Linked DNA regions of Homo sapiens: region 2 is linked to region 1. Evidence: promoter capture Hi-C in human tissues and cell types (Jung and others, 2019). All regions are on one chromosome and are shown on one strand. Each heading gives the region's core, a stretch centred on a gene start or on the middle of the fragment in contact. The rest is flanking DNA. Distances are from core to core; before and after follow the strand shown.

Region 1 (4,817 bases), core at 1,393-3,892:
AAGGCACATCCATTTGTGTGCCTTCCTCTCCCTCCTGCCTGCCATTATCCTGGTTACCAGGAACCTTGGCATGGCTGCAATTCACAGTCCCTTCCCGGGCCACGTCTCCCTGGATTCTCACTGCCTGGCTCCTGAAGCCCTTTCCTGGCTCAGCCTCCCTTGGCCTCCCCAGCTGGGGCTGCCTTCCCTCCCTGGCTACTGCAGGTCAGGCTACCCAGGCCTGGCCTCTTTTCTCCATCAACCCTTGCCCCTTGAGCATCTCACACACGCCCAAAGCTACAAATACCATTGATCTACTACTGGATGACGGCACCCACATTTAGACTGTCTGCTCCAACCCCTACCCCAACACCACACTCAGATTTTTCCAAGTGATGTCACACAGATGCCTCAAATTCGATGAGTCCAGAACAGGACCCTCTATGCCCCTCACCTTCTCCCCACGAGCCCTCCATCTCAACAAAGACCACCACCATCCAACCACTCTGCGGCTCAGGCCTCTGAATCCACTTGGACTCCCCTCTCAGCCCTGTCCCGTCTGTAGGCAAACCCATATCCCACCCCTCCTTGTCCTCCAGGTTCCACCTCCCAGCCCCGAAAGTAATCACTGTCCCTTAAGGATTCCCCCTGCTCAAGGATTCCTCTGGCAGTCCACTACCCTGACAGCAAACACAGAGGTTTGTTGTTTTTTTTTAAATTTTAGTAACATATACACAACATAAAATTTGTCCAAACTATTTTCAAGTGTTCAGTTCAGTGGTATTAAACATTCTTATGCAACCCTCCCCACCATCCATCTCCAGAACTTTTTCATTTTCCCAAACTGGAACTGCACTCATTAAACAATAACTCCCTGATCCCCTCTCATATAAGTGGAACCATACAGTATTTGTCTTTTTGTGACTGGTTTTTTTTTTTTTGAGACGGAGTCTCACTCTGTTGCCCAGGCTGGAGTGCAGTGGTGCAATCTCGGCTCACCACAACCTCCATCTCCCGGATTCAAGCAATTCTCCTGCCTCAGCCTCCCGAATAGCCAGGATTACAGGTGCCCGCCACCACGCCCAGCTAATTTTTGTATTTTTAGTAGAGACGAGGTTTCACCATGTTGGCCAGGCTGGTCTCGAACTCCTGACCTCAGGTGATCCACCCGCCTCGGCCTCCCAAAGTGCTGGGATTACAGGTGTGAGCCACTGCGCCCAGCCTTGTGACTGGTTTATGTTACTGGGTGTAATGTCTTCAAGGGTCATCCATGCTGCATCATGTATCCGAATTTCATTCCTTTAAGGTTGAATGGTATTGCATTGCATGTAGACAGCACATTTCGTCTGTCTCATCGGTGGGTGAACTGATGTGAACCATTGTGAATAATGGGGCCATGAACATGGGTGTATGAACATCTGTTCAAGTCCCTGCTTTTGATTCTTTTGAATGTGTACCCACAAGCAGCATTGCTGGATCATACGGTAATTCTATTTTTAATTTTTTGAGTCATGATCATATTGTTTTTCACAGCGGATGCACCATTTTATATTCCCACCAACGGTGCCCAAGGGTTCCAATTTCCCCATATCCTCGCCAACACTTATTTTGTTTTATTGTTTTGCTTTTCACAGTTACCATCCTGATGGACACAGGGATGCTTGCAAAGTGACAAACTTTAGAGGTATCCCAGGTCACCCCACCTGGCACTGCGGACGCCCACGTGGCCCCACCCCTCACTTGGCAATATTCTCATCAAGTGTCAGCACTAGCTTATTGTATTGACTGCCTCCTGGCTGGACTCTAAGAGACAGTGTCTTTTATTGCATGCTACATCCCCAACATCTAGAACAGTGTCAGGCAAACAGTTGTTTAATAAACGGTGGAAGGAAGGAAGGGAGGGAGGGAGGGAGGGAAGGAGGGAAGGAAGGTGGGTAGGTTGGTTTCTATTTTCCACCAAAATATTGAGGACCTCTCCTGCCTGTCCACTTGCTCTGGTGCGCCTCTCAACCCTCGCGCCCCACCTGGACTCAATCCCGCAGTCCTGCCTCTCCTTCCTTGGGCCCCCGGGGAAGAACCCCGACAGCGGCCGGCACATTTGAGTGGGGCCCTGGACGTTTGGGGAGGTTTGGACACATTCCCGAATGCCTCCCTGCTGTGGGTTAGGTGGGCCTGTCTTGGGCTGGCAGCGAGGACAACGTTGTGGCTAGGTCGTCAGTTAGTGAGCCAGCACGGTCTGAGCCGCCACACTCCGCGCCCCGCCCACGCGCCCCGCCCTTTCCAGTTTTGCCTCGCCTGCTCGGGTCTTCGCTCCTGTAACCCATACGATCTTAGCCCCGCCCCCGTGGTGTCGTGGGTCCACGCTACTGGTCCTCTCCTAGAAAGCCGCGAAATGACCAGTTCCTCATTGGCCACACGTTCTCCCGCGCCACCACCGCAGCCACAACAACCGCCACGTGCTCAACCTTGGCGCCTGCCCATTGGCCACCAGCCTCTACCCGCCCACTCTCCCTTTCCGCCCCTAATTTCCCTCTTCTTCCTTCCATTGGCTGTCGGGCTCAGGGGCTCTCTTTTCAGCCTGGGGCGCGCAGCGCCTCGGATGCGGATTGGCCGAAGGCGGGGCTGGGAGGCGGGTTAAAGAGCGCGTTGCTGGCTGGGCCACGCGTGCTTGAGAAGGTTCAATGGCGTGGCAGGGACTAGCGGCCGAGTTCCTGCAGGTGCCGGCGGTGACGCGGGCTTACACCGCAGCCTGTGTCCTCACCACCGCCGCGGTGGTAAGCGGCCGGGCGGACCGGACGTCGCCTTGGTTACAGCCTCTGGCGGGAGGGGTGAGGGTCGCCATGGTTACGGCGTGGCTCCCGGGCAGCTCTTGACTGGCCCCTGGTTCCACAGCAGCTGGAGCTCCTCAGCCCCTTTCAACTCTACTTCAACCCGCACCTTGTGTTCCGGAAGTTCCAGGTGAGGCCGCCCCGCGCCGCGCACCTGTGGGCCCGACCCACCCACCCCGCACCTGACCGCCCGTCCCCCGTAGGTCTGGAGGCTCGTCACCAACTTCCTCTTCTTCGGGCCCCTGGGATTCAGCTTCTTCTTCAACATGCTCTTCGTGTATCCTGCGCCCTGCGGACACGGGCTGGGTGGAGGGCAGGCCGGCCGGGCTGGGAGAGAGGCCGGGACGGGGAAACTGAGGCCCCGCCTGGTGGCACTTCCTATACCGACGCCGTAGGTTCCGCTACTGCCGCATGCTGGAAGAGGGCTCCTTCCGCGGCCGCACGGCCGACTTCGTCTTCATGTTTCTCTTCGGGGGCGTCCTTATGACCGTATCCTTCCCGCAGGCTCTGGAACCTCGGGCTAGGGCGCCTCGGCGTCCAGCCTGTGTTGGTCCTGGGGCCAACACAGCCATGCCAGAGAGGGACACAGTCGCTGTCTCCAGCTTAGTATGTGTTGAGGGCCCACTCTGTGCTCAGCTGCAGGGGTCAGGGCTAGATCTTCAGTGCTGTATGCAAAATACAAAGCCATGCACAAAAGAGCCAGGTGGGTTGTCAGGGCCACTAGCTGAGCCCTGAATGCGAGTAGCCGGGAGAAACTGGGGCAGGGACAGGCAGTGGTTGGGCCCTGGGATGAGGCTGTAGGTGTGCAGGGCAGATTTCGTGGGACCTGAAGCCCGTGGAGTGTGTCGCCTTTATTGGACTGGCTCATCTTGATGAGGGAATAGCACATAGGGGAGATGAGGGGAAGAATTCCAGGGTCTTGGGAAGTCAGAGGGGCCCTGGGCTTGGGCTGAGGCCTGCACCGGAGCACCTTGACTCTGGCCCAGCTGCTGGGACTCCTGGGCAGCCTGTTCTTCCTGGGCCAGGCCCTCATGGCCATGCTGGTGTACGTGTGGAGCCGCCGCAGCCCTCGGGTGAGGGTCAACTTCTTCGGCCTGCTCACTTTCCAGGCACCGTTCCTGCCTTGGGCGCTCATGGGCTTCTCGCTGCTGCTGGGCAACTCCATCCTCGTGGACCTGCTGGGTGAGCCTCCCGGTACATCTAGTCCGCCCCAGGCTGGCCACTCCCCTCAGGACACGCTGCTTATGCCCTGGGGCCCCTCTCCCATCCTTGCTGGAGTTCTCCTCACACCTGGCTCCATCCCCATCTTCCTGCCCTCCCAGCTGCTGTGCTCTTACAGCCCCTCAAGCCAGCCGGCCCACATAATTTGCATCGTCAGGACGGATCTACTGATGCTTGCACGGTCCTGATGGGAGTGAGGATGGGAGGGTCAGGGTTCCTGCCCCATGGCTCCCACTCCTCCACTATTCTCAGGCCCTCCCCTCCCTGGGTCCTGCCTGCTTCTGGGCCTTTTAAGCTTGTCCTTCACGGCCAACCCGGGGCTGGCACTCTGTGCAAGGCTTTGGGGCACTCATGCTGTGGGGCCTGCAGGGCCACCAGGCTGTGGATGGGGGCCTGGGGCAGGCTCTGCTGGTCTAGGACTCTGGGCTGTGGAGGGTGACCCCACAGTCCGTGGCTGTCTCACAGGGATTGCGGTGGGCCATATCTACTACTTCCTGGAGGACGTCTTCCCCAACCAGCCTGGAGGCAAGAGGCTCCTGCAGACCCCTGGCTTCCTGTGAGTGTTGAGAGCCCTCCCTCCCTCTCCCCACCCTCAGAAGGATCCCCACCGATGGGGACCTGTGCTGGCCTGTGCTCAACACGGGCCCCTCCCCACAGAAAGCTGCTCCTGGATGCCCCTGCAGAAGACCCCAATTACCTGCCCCTCCCTGAGGAACAGCCAGGACCCCATCTGCCACCCCCGCAGCAGTGACCCCCACCCAGGGCCAGGCCTAAGAGGCTTCTGGCAGC
Region 2 (4,817 bases), core at 643-3,142, 36 kb before region 1:
CGATCCCCAGAGCCGTAAAGATGGCTGAGCTCATGGCCACAGCTCCTCGGAGCTCCTTAGGGGCGCTCTCCCCCAGGTACATGGGCTGGATGTTCATGCTCACACCTGGACGTGTGCACAGCAGAGGCACGTCAGCCACCAGCTGGGACCCCCACTCCACGACACCCAGCCTGTCTCCCCTGCCCCACTCAGCACTGTCCAGCCACTCAACTGGATCCTGGCACTGAGGGCTGATCCCTCACCCCCCACACTCAGGGGTTCTGCTTCACCTGATGAAGGGCCAACAGGATCCCAACTCTACTCTTCAGAACTTCTGAGGGAGGGCTTTCTCAGATCCGCTCCCATCCTGGTCCCTGGCCACAGTACCACATGTTCATGGGCTCTTCCTAGGTCCCATCACTGGGACCCGAGTGTGAAGGACTCTGACGGGGCTGTGCGGGGGGGTGGGAGGAGGAAGGTAGGACCACATCCTGGATGCCTACCAGCTGTCCCAGCACTCATGTCAATTCCTTCATTGATCACTACAGCTGCTCTCACCTCACCCTGGCTCCCCCAGGGAAGACCCTGGCACCTACACTGCCCTCAGGAAAACAGAGAGCTGGAGAGCACCCCAGCGCCCTCCCAGAGGGTGACAAATGGCAAAAGCTAAGAGGCCACTGTGTTGTGGTGTCACGCCCCTGGGAATGCAGTATGCCCTCCCTGACCTAGGGGTTCTCCCATCAAGGTCCTGCCCCTCTATCTACGAGTTGGGCAAAGATAACTGGAAGGAAGGCAGCTATGCTGATTGCCAAGGAGTCTCGGAGGTGCCCCTGCTCTTCCTACAAACATTTAGCTGGGGATTCCTTCTCTGATGGGTACTTGGGACATGAAGACAAAGTCTGACCTGGTTCCTTTCCCCTGGATCGTGGGCTACTCTTAGTAACTCACTTCTAATGAGCAGAATAATGGTGTATGACCTCTGGAATTAGGACATAAAAAGCACCTGGACTTCTCCTTGTGCATGCCCTCTCTCTGTCTCCCTGTCTCCCTCTCTCTCCCTCCCCTCCTCACCCCCTCAGATCACTCTGGAAGAAGCCAGCTGCCATGTTGTGAAGATCCTCAAGCAGCTCTGTGGAGAGCCCCCCAAAGTGGGCAGCTGAGACCTCCTGCCAATGGCACGTGAGGGAGCATCTTGGAAGTGGATCCTCCAGCCCCAGCCAACCCTTCTGATGTCTGCAGCCCTGACAGCTTGAGCACAGCCCCGTCAGAGACCCCAAGCCAGAGCCACCTACCTAAGACATTCCTGGGTTCCTGGCCCACAGAAACTGTGAGATTATAAATGTTGATTATTTTAAGTCACTTAATTTTGGGGTTATTTGTTTCACACAAATAGATAACTAATATAGATAGCATCATATAGATAACATCACCACTGGGCTGTATAAACAGTAGGGCGTCAAGAGATGACTTGTTGGTTGGAGCCCCTAAAAACCCAGGTGGATGTGCTCAAAATTCTGCTCTCTCACATGAAAAGCCCCAGAAATCGAGGAGTACCTAACAGGCCATTCTGCTTCTGAGAGAAGATCAGAAAACTCATCCTATATCCCTTTACACGTTGGCTACCAGGAAGCTCATGGCTTAGAGTGTTACTCAAACATGGGACCTGTATTAGTGTTAAGTTTGGAGATGCTTATTCCCCCACCCCTACACAACTTTTCCATTGTTCTGTACCTACTTTAAATATCTAGTTATATGAGCCCTTTAAGATAAACTATACTACATCCTTTTGTGACAAAGGTAGGCATAAATAAAAAATAAATGAATGAATAAAGGGAGGAAATGAAGGAAGAAATGAAATAAAAGGAATTAATGAATTTATTAATTAATAGGCATAGAGAGGCAGGATGAGAAGCCCCCACCCCATACCTGCATTGACTCCCACGAGCAGTCTTCCCAGCATGATCATCTCAAAGGAGCCTGCTTTGCGGCTGAATCCAAACAGGATTGCTGCTGACACCACAAAGATGTTATTCACCAGGAGGGACTTCTTCCTTGGGGGAAGTGAAACACACAGAAAGAGAGGCTGTGATTCAGTCCAGCGGGACCATCCCTGGGGACCACTCTTTGCAACTGTAACAAGCCTTAATTAGACACACACACAAATGTATGTAGTATGCCATTAACTACTTTGAGTCCTGGTATCCTTGCTGTCAAATGAGATGAGAGCTCCTACACTTACACGTCTGTTGTAACACATAATTTTTAAAATATCTGTAAAAATTGGGCTGGGCATGGTGGCTCATGCCTTTAATCCCAACACTTTGGGAGGTTGAAGCGGGCAGATCACCTGATCCCAGGAGACCAGGCAGGTCAACATGATGAAACCCTATCTCTACAAAAAATACAAAAAAAATTAGGCTGGGCGCGGTGGCTCACGCCTGTAATCCCAGCACTTTGGGATGCTGAGGTGGGTGGATCACCTAAGGTCAGGAGTTTGAGACCAGCTTGACCAACATGGAGAAACCCTGTCTCTACTAAAAAAAATACAAAATTAGCCAGGCATGGTGGCACATGCCTGTAATCCCAGCTACTCGAGACTGAGGCAGGAGAGTCGCTTGAACCCGAGAGGTAGAGGTTGTGGTGAGCCAAGATTGCGCCATTGCACTCCAGCCTGGGCAACAAGAGCAAAATTCCATCTCAAAAAAAAAAAAAAATTAGCCATGCATGATGGCGCACGCCTGTAATTTCAGCTACTCAGGAGGCTGAGGTGGGAGGATTGCTAGAGCCCAAGAGTACGAGGCTGCAGTGAGCCATGATCACGCCACTGCACTCCAGCCTCGGTGACAGAGTGAGACCCTGTCTCAACAGCAACAATGAAGGTACTAATATGTAATTTCTCAGATTCAATAAAACTCCAGGGAGGAAGAACAGGGACTTTAAGAGTGAAGGAAGAGACGTATAGATAGTCAAGTAGAGTTTCCTTATATTTTCCTCCATGTATTACAGAGTCACTTCTCACAACTCAGAATGGCTGTATATCTCAATGCCTTGGTCAATGGGACAGACACCAACCCAAGGAGGGGACATTGGAAATGTCACCTGCTCCATCATGATGAAGCATTAGCTTTGGCTCCTCATATTGAGCTCAGAAGTGCTGCCATACAGATCACCCAGGAGAGCTCACTGTGATCATATAGCTCACTGTACTGAGAGGGAAACTGAAGACCAGAAGTGGCCAGTGTTCTGCTCAAAGTCACCAGCACATTGGTGATAAAATATGAGCCAAAGCTTAGGTCTCTTGTGTCTAGAGAATGAAAAATGACAGTAGATTATAACAAACTCGATCCAGTGGTAACTCCAATTGTAACTAATAATTATAATTACAATAATATACATTTTCCTCACTGGAATTAATAAATCCATTAATAATAATTAAGTACTTCAATCTAGTGAGTGCATTTTGCTCCATTTCAATACACAGACATTGCCAAAAACACTTAGCATTCACCTTGCTGGAACAGTCATATACCTCCTCCGATCTGCCTTAAGTATATAGCAGCAGCTGGGTGCAGCAGCTCACGCCTATAATCCCAGCATTTTTGGAGGCTGAGGTGGGGGGATCACGAGGTCAGAAGTTCGAGACCAGCCTGGCCAACATGGTGAAACCCCATCTCTACTAAAAATACAAAAATTAGCCAGGCATGGTGGCAGGCACCTGTAATCCCAGGTAGTGGGGAGGCTGAGGCAGGAGAATCGCTTGAACCCGTCTAATAAATAAATAATAAATAAATTCAAGGTCTTGCACTGTGCTCCCCCCACCATGCTACACACACGCGTGCACACACACACACACACACACACACACGTGTCTGTAATCAGTAGCTTGAGGGGGCCGAGGCGGGTGGATCACCTGAGGTCAGGGGTTCGGGACCAGCCTGACCAACATAGTGAAACCCCGTCTCTACTAAAAATACAAAATTTAGCAGGGCGTGGTGGCACGTGCCTGTAATCCCAGCTACTCAGGAGGCTGAGGCAGGAGAATCTCTTGAACCCGGGAGGCGGAGGTTGCAGTGAGCCGAGATCATGCCATTGCACTCTAGCCTGGGTGATAGAGCGAGACTCCGTCGCAAAAAAAATAAAAAGGATATAGCAGCTGCCCAGCTGCAGGCCACAGTCCATTCCACAGGGAGCTGTGCATCCCACAGGACATGCTGCTGTCCCACTATTTTGATGAGTTCACACAGAAAGGACCTGGAGAAGAGGAAGCAGCAAGTGCACTAGAAGTCTTGGTAAGGCACAGTGTGACAAAGAGTAGAAGATTAATAACGAGATAGGGGGCTGCCACTCCAACGAAGTTCCTGAGGTCTAGAGGACTAAGAGGTGGCAGCGTATTTTCTCCAAAGTGCATGACAAATTGCTGCACCTTGGTCCCCTTCCTCTAAGAAGGAGGGACAAACCTCTGAGAGCTTCTTTCCATTTTGGAGGCAGCAGAATACCACATCAGGTGTCGTGACCTGGCACATTTATCAGGTGACTTGAAAACCTGGTAGCTTTGAGTGGTGCTAAGCAAGAGAAGTATATTCTCTAGTGGGTCGAAGCCAAATTCACATCGCAGAGTACTAGCAACTATACATGATCGTGGCCCCAAGCCAAGTTCAAAGAGCTCTGCCACTCAACCCTTTAGCTTTAGGAGAGCCTGTGGTGCTCAAAGTGGCAGTTAAAATACCCTAAAAGGGGATCACAATGCAAAACCAAAGCTTTTTAAGTTGAGCTACTCTCCTTCAGCAAATTACTATCCATATACATATATATATATATATTCAGAGATAGGGTCTCAC

What was found. Contacts are between HindIII fragments. The study calls those that stand out against the background at their distance.
Region 2: a contact is called between a fragment that was not itself captured here and the fragment with the promoter of DERL3 in region 1, in 1 of the 25 tissues and cell types used here (aorta).

Annotation. Positions count from the first base shown.
Region 1 is chr22:23,836,831-23,841,647 of GRCh38, reverse strand. It overlaps DERL3 (derlin 3), which reads left to right and starts at 2,642. Exons shown (of 7, transcript NM_001002862.3): 1 at 2,642-2,753; 2 at 2,872-2,937; 3 at 3,011-3,084; 4 at 3,203-3,296; 5 at 3,794-3,989; 6 at 4,494-4,584; 7 at 4,686-4,817. The coding sequence starts at 2,661. The coding sequence ends at 4,779. SMARCB1 (SWI/SNF related BAF chromatin remodeling complex subunit B1) reads right to left here. Exons shown (of 9, transcript NM_003073.5): 9 at 3,639-4,817. RefSeq lists a silencer at 2,417-2,719. The HindIII fragment of the contact is 8,930 bases long and covers 1-4,817 here.
Region 2 is chr22:23,872,330-23,877,146 of GRCh38, reverse strand. SLC2A11 (solute carrier family 2 member 11) reads right to left here. Exons shown (of 12, transcript NM_001024939.4): 4 at 1,906-2,030; 5 at 1-105. Among named protein-coding and RNA genes, the nearest start is that of SLC2A11, 17 kb to the right of the region's middle. The HindIII fragment of the contact is 4,221 bases long and covers 1-4,002 here.